Linked DNA regions of Homo sapiens: region 2 is linked to region 1. Evidence: promoter capture Hi-C in 16 types of primary human blood cells and fetal thymus (Javierre and others, 2016). All regions are on one chromosome and are shown on one strand. The core of a region is centred on a gene start or on the middle of the fragment in contact, and the rest is flanking DNA. Distances in the headings are between cores, read along the strand shown.

The links. Contacts are between HindIII fragments. The CHiCAGO score rates a contact against its expected background, and 5 or more counts as called.
Region 2: a fragment that was not itself captured here is called in contact with the fragment with the promoter of KLHL36 in region 1 in 4 of 17 cell types (endothelial precursors, monocytes, M0 macrophages and 1 more); the score reaches 6.4 in endothelial precursors.

Annotation. Positions count from the first base shown.
Region 1 is chr16:84,646,160-84,652,313 of GRCh38, reverse strand. It overlaps KLHL36 (kelch like family member 36), which reads right to left and starts at 3,803. Exons shown (of 5, transcript NM_024731.4): 1 at 3,665-3,803; 2 at 1,384-1,462. The coding sequence starts at 1,446. LOC105371376 (a long non-coding RNA gene) reads left to right here and starts at 2,735. Exons shown (of 4, transcript XR_933817.2): 1 at 2,735-2,822; 2 at 2,986-3,111; 3 at 5,758-5,878. RefSeq lists silencers at 3,230-3,509, 3,720-3,909, 3,970-4,139. The HindIII fragment of the contact is 5,630 bases long and covers 2,324-6,154 here.
Region 2 is chr16:84,974,925-84,981,078 of GRCh38, reverse strand. It overlaps ZDHHC7 (zDHHC palmitoyltransferase 7), which reads left to right. Exons shown (of 8, transcript NM_017740.3): 5 at 1,794-1,890; 6 at 3,074-3,155; 7 at 3,854-3,984; 8 at 4,560-6,154. The coding sequence ends at 4,736. Among named protein-coding and RNA genes, the nearest start is that of ZDHHC7, 34 kb to the left of the region's middle. RefSeq lists an enhancer at 3,549-4,748. The HindIII fragment of the contact is 1,742 bases long and covers 1,479-3,220 here.

The sequences.
Region 1 (6,154 bases), core at 2,554-5,053:
AAGTGACAGAGCAAGACCCTGTCTCGAAAAAAAAAAAAAGTTAGAAACATCATCCAGTGATACAGAAGCCTAGTCCTAAGAGATTCAGTTCAGACAGAAACAAACTCAGGGTCCTGGCATTAATGGACAAAGACTTCCAGTGCTGTCAAACTTAGAAAGCAGCAGTGTCTCCCAAGCTAAGCTCCCAAACAAAGCCCTTGTGAGCGAGCGGCGAGACCTCTCTGGGTTTTCACAATCGATAAAGCTGGGCTTGGCAGGAACCTTCTTGGGGAACTCACGTGAGAACAGGAGGTCATATCTCAAGAGAGCCAACCTCTCTTGAAAATGACAGCCAGTTTTTCTTTTAGAATCTGTAGAATCTCTTTCCCCCTTTTTCTCAACTCTATAGGCTGCTGCCAGCTCCCTTCATCTAAAGAAGTGTTTCTGTATCTTTTTTCATTATTGCCCCACAAGAAGGCTTTTAAGATTTTTTTCCCTAATAGCCTCCCCAGCAAAATCTTAACATCACAGATGCACTGTATGTCTGCTCATGTACTGTATGTATAATTGTGTCTTATGCATAAAAGGAGTAAAATTCCTTCCACCCTCCCGAGAACCAATTTTCTCCCACTTCAGGGCAATATCATACTCATTGAGAATCCATGATCTGAGGTAACCATAAGATTTAATCTCCAAAAGGGATACCTCTAAAGAACAGAGGGCATTACGAATATTTATAACGGGGAAACAGGTTACCAGGAACCTCATACCAATGGCTCCCCCACTCTTTACCAACAGCAGCTGTGGGGACAGGAGTTTGTGGAAAGTATAGCAGCCGGGTCTGGCTCTTGGATTTTAATGTGGCTGGTGGGAACAGGCTACATATTTCTAATTAGAACTCCCCCAGTAGCCTGGCTCTGGGGAACTTGCCCTCACTTGCTCTTAGGTCGCAGGGAATCATGACCAGGGAAGACGACTCCAGGCCCTTGGGGTCCGGGTACACGGTGTGTTGCCCTCACCCTAAGGTAGAAGGCTGGGTTCTCAATGGACCTGTCCTTGGAGTTTTTGAGCCCCCAAGCAGGCATGGGAATCCCAGTTTTCTTCCTGTCCCATCCACCTCCTTGGGTTAACGAATGAGTCAAGTTGTCACAAAAAGAAAGCTCCGGAATGTCACATGGAAAAATGAAGACATCTGGCCATAGCGTCTCTACCATCCCTCATACTTCCCACTGTCTGATTTTATGACAATTTCTGCTCCTTGCCCGTTTCCACCTTTACTTGTCATTAAGGAGACTGACAACACCAATGACAAAAAAATCAGTCTGTGATTAGAAATGAGTGAATCAGAAAAAGGATCACACTTCTTAGGCAATTTGCATAGGTGGTGAGTGAACATTCACAGACCTTTGATGATTCGCTGATCTTGTATGGCCGAGACACTCGCGTCTGCCTGCTTCCCTCCATCATTAAAGAGATTTCAGCCCTAGGAGAAGAACAGGATTTCTGAGCATGCAGTCATAACTCTAGGTCATTCATTAATTTCAGGCCCTGCTAGCAGATACCAAGGATGACAGTGAAAACAGTCACACGGAAGAAGGAGGGAGGGAGGACCGTGCACTACAAAGAACTCTTTTACACCGAGTTGAGAAATCATCGGGTTGTTAGAATTGGACAGAACATTTAACTCCCATTCCTTTATCATCTAAAATCTGATATCATGTCATTTGGTTCACTTCCTACAAATAATTACCTTTTGGCTACATCAAGGTTATAATGATAAGTTATCATTTCGGAGCCCAGACTACAGCCCTCGAACCAAGCTAAGTGACTTAAGTGTGCCATCTCATTTAACCCCCACAAAGATTATACTTGGCCAGGCTGATATCACTTATTTCATTTCACAGATGAGGATATTGATCTCATGGTCACAAAGCTAGTAAACGGCCGAGAATCACGCCTCGGTCTGTCCAGCTTCAAAACCTGGATCCATCACCATGACACGCTGCTGAATGAGGCCCGGGTTCGAGAGTATCACACTTTAAAAATATCATGATGCAGATGAGGATGTGGTACAGTGATGACTACCATGTACACAGTACATTCTAGACACACACTGTCCCCAAGTGCTTCTCTGCATCTTCACTTAGTCCCCACTGCAACCCCATGAGGCCAGCACTGTGACTGGAGGATGCTGAGAGCAGTGAGGTGAAATAAGCTGCCCGGCGTCACACAGCTGGGAACTGGCAGAATTGGGATTCCAGCTCAGGGAAGCGCCCATGCTCTTAACTCTTAGGCTACACTGCCTGGCTCTTGGGTGGGGGATCACTGCAGACAGAGTTAAGCTTTGGTGTGTGGGGGGCGGGGGAGGCAGGGGGAGGGGCAGGTGCTTCAAAGATGGAAGGGAACACAGAGAAGGGACTTTGCCAACTAATATTAGCACAAGTCACATACTGAGACGAAGGTTTTAAAGAGGATTTTTTTCCCCCGCTATTTGAGTTCATGAGAAGAGTTTGTTACCTATTGAACAAATAGTCTTCACTAATAAAGAACAATGTGACAAGAAGTCAGCACTGTTCTTAGATAACTGGGGACACAGGGAGGGCACTCCAGTGTTCCCATGGAAGGAATGAATTCGGGCACAGTCCGTCCCGTGCAACTCCCCTAGGGAGAGAAGGGGCAACTGGATTCCTCTCGACAAACTAGAAACTTTGTGACAATGACAAGCTGTTCCCACCCCGGCCCTCCCCTAGGATGCTGGAGAGCCCAGAGAGGGAAGAGAAGAAACCCAGCGTTGGTGCGGTGCCCACCGCGGACTCGACTTCATTCCACCTTCACGCTGAGAGGTGACACCGTCGTTCCCACAGTGAGACCTGGCGCTCGGGTGCCCCAGGGGGGGTTGCCCAAGGTCACAGAACAGCAAGCAGCAGGTGCCCTCTCTCTCCACCGCCCCAGGCAGCCTGCCCAGAATCAACCAGGCCTTCTAACGCTCAACGCTTTATTTTCTAGGCCAAGATACCTAGAGAGAGTTCGCGGGGCCGGAGGCTCCCTGCTGTCTCCTGCAAGTGCGTGGGGGTGGGGTCTGATTTCCACCCGTGTTGGACGTCAGCGGCCTCCGACGCTTTTTGGAAGCAGGTGAAGGGTCAAGGCCACCCCCAAGCACAGTGACAATCCCAGGTCACTGGAAAAGGTCTTCCAGTAAACATGGGACCGCAGGCCCCGTCCGGCCGGGGGTTTCCCAGAGCGCCTCCTCCCCAAGCTCCCTCCCGACCTCAGCGTTGGAGAAAGCGACGCTGCTGACACCGGCTCGCCGGCGGGGTCTCCGGGGACGCCGCTGTCGTTCGCTCGGACCCCGCAGCCCAGGCGGAACTCAGCGCAACGGCCGCCCAGCAGGCTCCAGCCGGCGGCGAGGAGGCGGAGTCGGGACGGCCCGGGGCGGGGGCCACTCACCTGCCACGCGCGGGGCGGTCCGCACAGGCCGCACCTGTGTCACCTGCGGGGGCGGCGGCCCCTCCCCCGGCCGCGGCGCCCCCACTCGCCCACCCGCCCGCCCCGGCACCAAGGGGCGCAGGGGGGTCGCGGCTCGCGGTGGCCGGGGACCCTCCCGATCTCCGCCAGCTCCCCGCCCCGGCCGGGCGCGGCTTCCTGGCGGTCCCGGGCTGGAGGGTGGGCGCGCGCGGAGGCCCACCTGGCAGGACGCGCTACGGACGCGGCGGGGACAGCCCCGGCGGCGGGGCCGGGCGGTCGGGGCGGCGGGGCCCGGGTTCAGGAGACCCCCGGCCAGCCCGCTGCGCAGCCATGGCTCCGCCAGGAAGTGCGAGGCCGAGGGCGGAGGCGGCGCGCGCGGCCAATGGCGGCGGCCGCGGGGAGGCGGGGCCGGGCGGCGCGGGGCGGGGCCTGCGGCTGAGGGCGGGACGCGGGGGCCGTGGGGTGAGCTCGCAGGGTGGACGCCCCCCTCGTCCGCGCCCCGGGGATCCCCGGTGTCCACCCCACCACGACGCCCGACTCCGTCCCTTCAAAGGCAGGCCCCAGCCCCGCCGCGCGAAATGCTCCCTGGTGCCACCCACCGTCACGGACGCAGGGCCACGGCGGGGACCAGACACGCAGGGTCCCGGGCCTCGAGGCACCGACGCGTGCGCTGGGAGCTCTTTGCTGGCCCAGAGTCGCCGGGACGGGCACCGCGCCTCTCGCCTCCTTCCGGGCTGAGCGGGAGCGTCCCTGCGGCCACCCTGCGGCGAGGCCTTTGCTGACCGCTCTGCTCGAAGTCACAGCCCCTCTCTCTGCACCCAACTTCCAACCCCATGCTTCACTTGAGCTCTTATCAGCGTCTAATATTCCAAATAATGTACTAGTTTATTCGGTTTATTGTCTCTCCTCCCTACCAGAAGCCCTCCAGGGCAGGGTTTACTGTTAGTTCTATTCCTGACTGGGTCGTCGCCAAGACTGGCACACAGTAGGTGCTCAGTAAATGTGTATGGAATGAATGAATGTAACCTTCATCGATCCATCTATCAATTGTCACACTTCGCTCATGCTACAGCGGGATGAACCTTGGAGATGTAATACTTAGTGAAAGAAGCCAGACACAAAAGACCACACACTGTATGATTCCGTGTATGTGAAATGTCCGGAACAAGCCAATCCATAGAGACAGAAAGTAGATGAGTGGTTGCCAGGGGCGGGGAGTTGCTGGAGTGGGAAATGGCTGCTGAAGGATCAGCGATTTCTTTTGTGTAGTGCTCACTACAGCCTCCACCTCCCAGGCTCAAGTGATCCTCCTGCCTCAGTCTTTCATGCAGCTGAGACCACAGGTGCCGGCTGCCACACCTGGCTATTTTTTTTTCTTTGATTTTTATAGAGACAGGGTTTCAGTTTGTTGTCCAAGCTGGTCTTGAACCCCTGGGCTCAAGCGATCCTCGTGCCTCGGTATCCCAAAGTGCTGGGATGACATGTGTGAGCCAGCACACCCAGCCCACTTACAGGATCTTTATTTTTTAATTATTTATTTATTTATTTTATTTATTTATTTATTTATTTTTTTTCTTTTTTTTTTTGAGACGGAGTCTCGCTCTGTCGCCCAGGCTGGAGTGCAGTGGCGGGATCTCGGCTCACTGCAAGCTCCGCCTCCCGGGTTCACGCCATTCTCCTGCCTCAGCCTCCCAAGTAGCTGGGACTACAGGCGTCCACCACCTCGCCCGGCTAATTTTTTGTATTTTTAGTAGAGACGGGGTTTCACCGTGTTAGCCGGGATGGTTATTTATTTTTTTGAGACAGAGTCTTTCTGTCACCCCGGCTAGAGTGCAACGGCTCAATCTCAACTCACTGAAATCTCCACTTCCTGGATTCAAGCGATTCTCCTGCCTCAGCCTCCTGAGTAGCTGGGATTACAGGCGCCCACCACCACGCCTGGCTAATTTTTGTATTTTTAGTAGAGATGGGGTTCACCATATTGGCCAGGATGGTCTCAAACTGCTGACCTCGGGTGATCTGCCTGCCTCAGGCTCCCAAAGTGCTGGGATTACAGGTGTGAGCCAAGGATCTTTAAATGATGTTCTCACTGACTGGATTGCTGTCCCCCATCTCTCTCTCTCTCTCTCCCCTTTTCTTTGGGGACTGTACACATTCACCCTGCCAAGCCTTACTTGCCTGTCTTTGACCCTTCCTGGACCTGTCCCTACCCCAGACAAAGCTAATCCTCCTGTTATTCTGTCTCCATACCGACATGTGGATGGATCTCTGTTCTGACATGAATTCATGCACTGCCTCTCATTCATCCAACAGACTTTTCAGGAACACCTGCTGTGTGGCCGGCACTGTAGTAGGTGCCAGGGATACAAAGAAGAAACTTTCAGGGCTCTTAGGAAGACAGGAAAACAAGTCAATCAGCAATGGTCCTAGCGTGGTGAGTACTGTGTTGGGGCAATACACGGAGCACCAAGAGTTGGACATATTCTTTTTTACAGCTAGAGTTAAAGATTCTCTTGATAAATAGATATAGGTAGATAAATAGATACATGCCCCTCTATATATGGGTATCTATCATATCTATTTATCTGTCTAACAAGAGATTTAGCTGTAGATATTTTAAGAGCCTATAACTCTTATATAGATAAATGGATACATGCACCTCTATATATGGGTATCTATGCTATCTATCTATCTATCTATCTATTTATCT
Region 2 (6,154 bases), core at 1,100-3,599, 330 kb before region 1:
CCTGTACTGTGTGACAGGCTGCACCTGGACAGTGCCCTTCTCCTGGGGGGTCGTGGCCTGCTTGAATAGGCTGGAAGCCATTGATGGCCTCCAACGGGAGGAAACCCAGATACAGGGTGCTGACTGCTTTATGGCTGGAGTGAAAGCTTTAAGAGATTCATATCCTCATGGTTTGGCCAGAAAGTAAAGAAAGATGAAATGGTATCGGAGAGTAAATGGGTGGCTGTTTTGGGCTGGGGTTAGAAATAGGCAGTGACTGCATATGGGGTGAGGTTTCTTTCTGGGATGGTGGGAATGTTCAAAAATTAGATGGTGATGGTCTCACAACTCTGCAGATAGAATAAAAATCATTGAATTGTACATTGCAAATGGGTGAACTTTTATGGTATATAAATTTTTTGGGGATGGGGGGATGGAGTCTTGCTCTGTCGCCCAGGCTGGAGTGCAGTGGCATAATCTCGGCTCACTGCAACCTCTGCCTCTCAGGCTCAAGCGATTCTTGTGCCTCAGCCTCCCTAGTAGCTGGGATTACAGGCGCCCGCCACCATGCCTGGCTGATCTTTGTATTTTTAGTAGAGACGGGGTTTTGCCACATTGGCCAGGCTGGTCTCGAACTCCTGACTTCAGGTGATCCACCTGCCTCGGCCTGCCAAAGTGCTGGGATTACAGGCATGAGCCACCTCGCCTGACCTATGGTATATAAATTATACTTCAATAAATCTGTTGAAGATAAAATGGGAATGTTTTGGAAGTCAGGTGCTGTGGAGGTCGGGCAGGGAGCCAAGGTCAATGAATAAGAAGAAGGTGACGCTATGGGCGGGTGCGGTGGCTCACGCCTGTAATCCCAGCACTTTGGGAGGCCGGGGTGGGCGGATCACGAGGTCAGGAGATCGAGACCATCCTAGCTAACACGATGAAACCCCCATCTCTACTAAAAATAGAAAAAAAAAATTAGCCGGGCATGGTGACTGGTGCCTGTAGTCCCAGCTACTCGGGAGGCTGAGGCAGGAGAATGGCGTGAACCCGGGAGGCAGAGCTTGCAGGGAGCTGAGATTGAGATTGCGCCACTGCACTCCAGCCTGGGCGACAGAGCAAGACTCCATCTCAAAAAAAAAAAAAAAAAAAAAAAGGTGACGCTATGATAGCAAGTCTGCCTGCAGCGAACCTGCTGCCATCGATGTCTGCTTGATGTAATTAAATGGTGCAAGCTTGGACTAAAAAGTAATCGATAATCAAATTAGTTATTTAAAATTGGACATACAGAGTGTTTTGGGCAAAAGTAAAATACAGCTGTTAAAAACAAGACGACTTCATGCCTGGGTGTGTAGTTGATGATTCAAGATGAATATGCAATCCATACTGCATATTCATCAGTGAATATGGATTCAGTGGTAGGAATTATTTGAAGATACAAAGAATGTTTCTCCTTGAGGGTAAAATTTCAGTTTTTGTTTTTTATTGAAATAGACTTGTAAGCTTGCAAAATTAGGAACATTACTGATAGGTGTACATGATCCAGCTCTACTGGGGGAGTGTCTGAGAACTCGTGAAGTATGGCTTAGTTTGACCTTTCGCCCCAAGCTGTTGGTCCATTGAGTATTTTCCTTAGGAAACGGAAGACATTTAATTAAAATGATAAACCTTAAAGGAATATAGTGAGAATGTATGATATTTTTTGACATGTTGTATTAGAATATACATTCTAATTTTCCTCCACCTTTGATTTTATTTGGTTGTGTTACTCTGGTTTCCTCAGAGCATGGAATACTGAAAAATCAAACTCTCCTTTTCAGTATTTGCAAAAGATGTATTCGGAAAATGGATCATCACTGCCCGTGGGTGAACAATTGTGTAGGAGAAAAGAATCAAAGATTTTTTGTGCTCTTCACTGTAAGTAAAAATATTTTTGTATTGAATTTACATTGAATTTGAAATTCTTTAACTGCTTCTTGCCTGGAGCAGAGAAATCTACTAACGTCAGGCCAGTTTCTCTCCAGCCTTTTCTCCAGGATTCAAATTATAATACTGTGCTGTCATTGGCAGGAAGTAGTCCCAATAAGTAATATGTTGCTTGTATTATTTTAGGTGTTCACTGTAATTTAATTCTCTCCCAGATGTCCTCAATCGCTATTGTTTATTAATAATAACAGGAATCTTCCTAAAGTATGTTAGAGTTTATTTCCTTTTTCTTTTCTTTTTTTCTTTTTTTTTTTTTTGAGATGGAGTTTTGCTCTTGTTGCCCAGGCTGGAGTGCAGTGGTGTGATCTCAGCTCACTGCAACCTCCGCCTCCCAAGTTCAAGTGATTCTCTTGCTTCAGCCTCCCAAGTAGCTGAGATTACAGGCATGTACCACCACGCCTGGCTAATTTTGTATTTTTCGTAGAGATGGGGTTTCTCCATATTGGTTGGGCTGGTCTTGAACTCCCGACCTCAGGCGATCCGCCCACCTCGGCCTCCCAAAGTGCTAGGATTACAGTCGTGAGCCACCGTGCCCGGCCGTTTATTTTTTTATAGACGGGGTTTTGCTGTGTTGCCCAGGCTGGTCTTAAACTCCTGAGCTCAAGCCATCTGCCCGTCTTGGCCTCCCAAAGTGCTGGGATTACAGGCGTGAGCCACCATGCCCAGCTATATTTTTCTATAAAATTATTCTACTTGGTCTAATATGATCTTGGGTAGGAAAATGTCAACTGCTGCCATTTAATCCTTCCCTCATTTTTTTCTCTGACAAGATGGAGGTATACACATGATGTGTCATCAGCCTTTGCTCTTAGAAAGACTTGTTTAAGTTACTAACTGGCTGGGTGGATCACTAGAGGTCAGCAGTTACAGACCAGCCTGGCCAACATGGTGAAACCCCATCTCTACTAAAAATGCAAAACAGTTAGCCGGGCATGGTGCTTGTAGTCTCAGCTACTTGAGAGGCTGAGGCAGGAGAATCGCTTGAGTCTGGCAGGCGGAGGTTGCAGTGAGCTGAGACTACGCCGCTGCATTCCAGCCTGGACAACAGAGGGAGACTCTGTTTCTAAAAAAAATAAAAAATAAAAGTGACTAACCAATCTCCCCCTCATTCTAGATGTATATAGCTCTGTCTTCAGTCCATGCTCTGATCCTTTGTGGATTTCAGTTCATCTCCTGTGTCCGAGGGCAGTGGACTGGTAAGTTCCCTGGCTATGTGTCATTCCTGGCTTTGCATGCTGTTATTGGATGAAAGGGGAAAGCTTTAAAGGAAGAACCAGTTTTCCAATTTTGAAGGAAATCATTGCAATTATTTTAGCAATTGAATTTTAAAGAATTTAGTTAAGTTTTAACACCACCATTTTACTAGTATATTGTTGCCCCAAAAGCTTGTGTCTGTCTGCTGGTCAGCTAGCTCGCCATTGTTCAAAGCAGGCTTCACGTTGCTTACGTGAGTGACCGACCCTAAGCAAGTGTAGTGAAAATAGGTGCTCGTTATCCTACCTTAGATATGCAGTGAGGTCTGGACAGGCTCATCCCACCCCAGGGGAACATGGTGAACAGACTCCTGTGAGCACTGCTCACTGGTATGGGTGCACACAACTCTTCTGGTCTGGCTTCATTTGCCATTTAATTCATAAATACAGTGTCAATAGAAACCTCAGAAAATACAGACTCTTTTGAAACCACTGGCCAGGAAGTCATGGTATGAATTTTTGCTTGGAAGGGTGGCCCTCCTCTGCTCCTTGGAGAACAATGAATGTGCCCATTTAGAAAGTGAACAACTTCCCCCTGGAAGCTGGCCAGGGGCTGGCCCTAGAGGATTCTTCTCTGAGCCAAACATTCTGCCACTCGGGGTATTCAGGACCAGTTATAACCAACTTCCTCTTGTCCGCAGAATGCAGTGATTTTTCACCTCCGATAACTGTAATCCTGTTGATCTTCCTGTGCCTTGAGGGTCTTCTGTTTTTCACTTTCACTGCAGTTATGTTTGGCACCCAAATCCACTCCATATGCAACGACGAGACGGTAAGCTTTGTTCTCGGCTGTGTGGACTTCATATGTGGTCCAAGCTTGAGTAAATGAAAAGTCCTAATGTCAACAATAGGTGCCTGTGGACTGACTCGGGAACGTAATGGGACGGTCTTGATGAGCTGCAACCAGCTCCCTGTGTTTGCTGTTTCTTTCATTCTGGGCAGTGCATATTTCTAGTCTCAGTTTGATTTGCAAGTCAGCAGAGCCAGGCAGATTCCCAGCTCCCAGTGCAGTCAGTAAATTTCAGGGAACTGACTGCCTTTAGGGCCTGGCTCTGCAGGCCTGGAGTGGCGCTCAGTAAATGTCTGTACACAGTAACTAACGAGCGACAAATGTTGGTGCCTGGCTGGGAGGGCCATTGTGGTAGTCTGGGCTGGCCACGTGGCTGCAGCCGGGCTGGGCTCACAGAGGCCACGGGGTCTGGATCGGGGCAGAGCTGGGAAGGAGAGTTCACTCACCTACCCTCCATCGAGCCCACACTGTGCTTGAGCACGGTGTGATTCTGAGGCTTGGTGGGGTCTGCCGAGCTTCCTGGAGCCGCTGCCACTTGCTTTTCTTTCTGCTTCCAGGAGATCGAGCGATTGAAAAGTGAGAAGCCCACATGGGAGCGGAGGCTGCGATGGGAAGGGATGAAGTCCGTCTTTGGGGGGCCCCCCTCACTCCTCTGGATGAATCCCTTTGTGGGCTTCCGATTTAGGCGACTGCCCACGAGACCCAGAAAAGGTGGCCCGGAGTTCTCAGTGTGAGGCGTGGCTCATCAGACTGAAACTTGCTCACAGACTTCCAGTTATTTATTTGGGGTCTGAAGGATATCAACAGCTCATCTGTGACCAACAGGGCAACTGGAACCTACACAAACCAATTGCTTGCAGCAAGCAGAGTTTTATATATTTATAGTCACAGATGGCAGAGGAAGAGGCTCTCAGTCCCCACCTGTACAACAACGGAAAGGTGTGTGGCCACACGAAGAAGCCAAACGCCGTGGCCTCCTGCAGAGCTGGGGCTTCTGTGGAGAATACTTCGGGTTATTACATGGGTTATTCAAATCCTGGGTCCTGAGCTGCTGTTTCCAATCATGAAGAAAAACAGTGAATCCAGTGAACAGGGATTCTCCAAGCAGTCATTTCAGGGGGCTCCTGCTGACCCCGCCACTCAGCAGTGCACTCCCCGGATCACAGCAGGGCGTTTACATAGAAAGACGTTTTGGTCTCGATTAGCTCCGATGCTTTGCACTGAAGTTGCAAAAGATCTGTGCACTGAACAGTGAAGGTGGCTTCCGGCACACTCCCCGCTGCCCCGGAAGAGACATCCTTTGACCCTCTCAGCAAGTCTGTGTGTGTGCGTGTCTGTGCGTGTGCGCGCGTGTGTGCATGTGTGTCAAAATTGCCAGTGTTGTTTAGGCAATGTAACATTTACCGGCTGTGTACAGCAAACAAGCTATTTTTTAGAAACCGACGTTTCAGGGAAGAGGGGAGAGAGCCGCGGGGTCCTGCCCGTGGTTACTATGAATGTATTGCTGTTGGAGGACATCTCGATCCAAAGAACAGCCGTTCCTGTGCGGCCCTTCGTTGCCCTCCTGCTTTCATTTTTTAAAGAAATCTTGAGTGCTTGAGGGCCTTGGAACTGATTTTTTTTTTTTGTTCCAGCCAAATTAGCAGTGTATAAATGGCACCTAGGTAAGAGCAGAGCTGCGGCTCGGTGACTTGATACTTGGGGCAGCCCGATGCTGTGTGTGGGGCAGGGGAGGCATCCTTACTGGAGAGGCAGGGCCCAGCCATTGGGCACCTCTGGGAAGGGGAGGGGACCATGAGGCAGCCAGCCCCTGGCAGGGGCGACTGTGCCACCGCAGGCAGCGCTCCAGTCGGGAATGGCCAGGATGGCGCCCTCTTGTTGGAGTTTTTGGTTAGCTTTTACGTTTTCTTCTCCACCCACGGCACAGGTGATAAAATAGGATCCTTGGTGCGGAGCTTAAAATTATGCCAGAAAGCCAACAGCTCCCCTCGTGGGGCCTTGCCTTAAACTTGCCTGGTTTGTACATTTTTTGCCGGACGCATCAAGAAGCAATCTGTGACAAAGTCTGAGGGTCTTCCTTTATGCTTGCCCTCCACACTAAGAGAAGTTGGCGTCTCCCTCCTGGGAATTGTTTTGCCTTTCTGTTCATCTG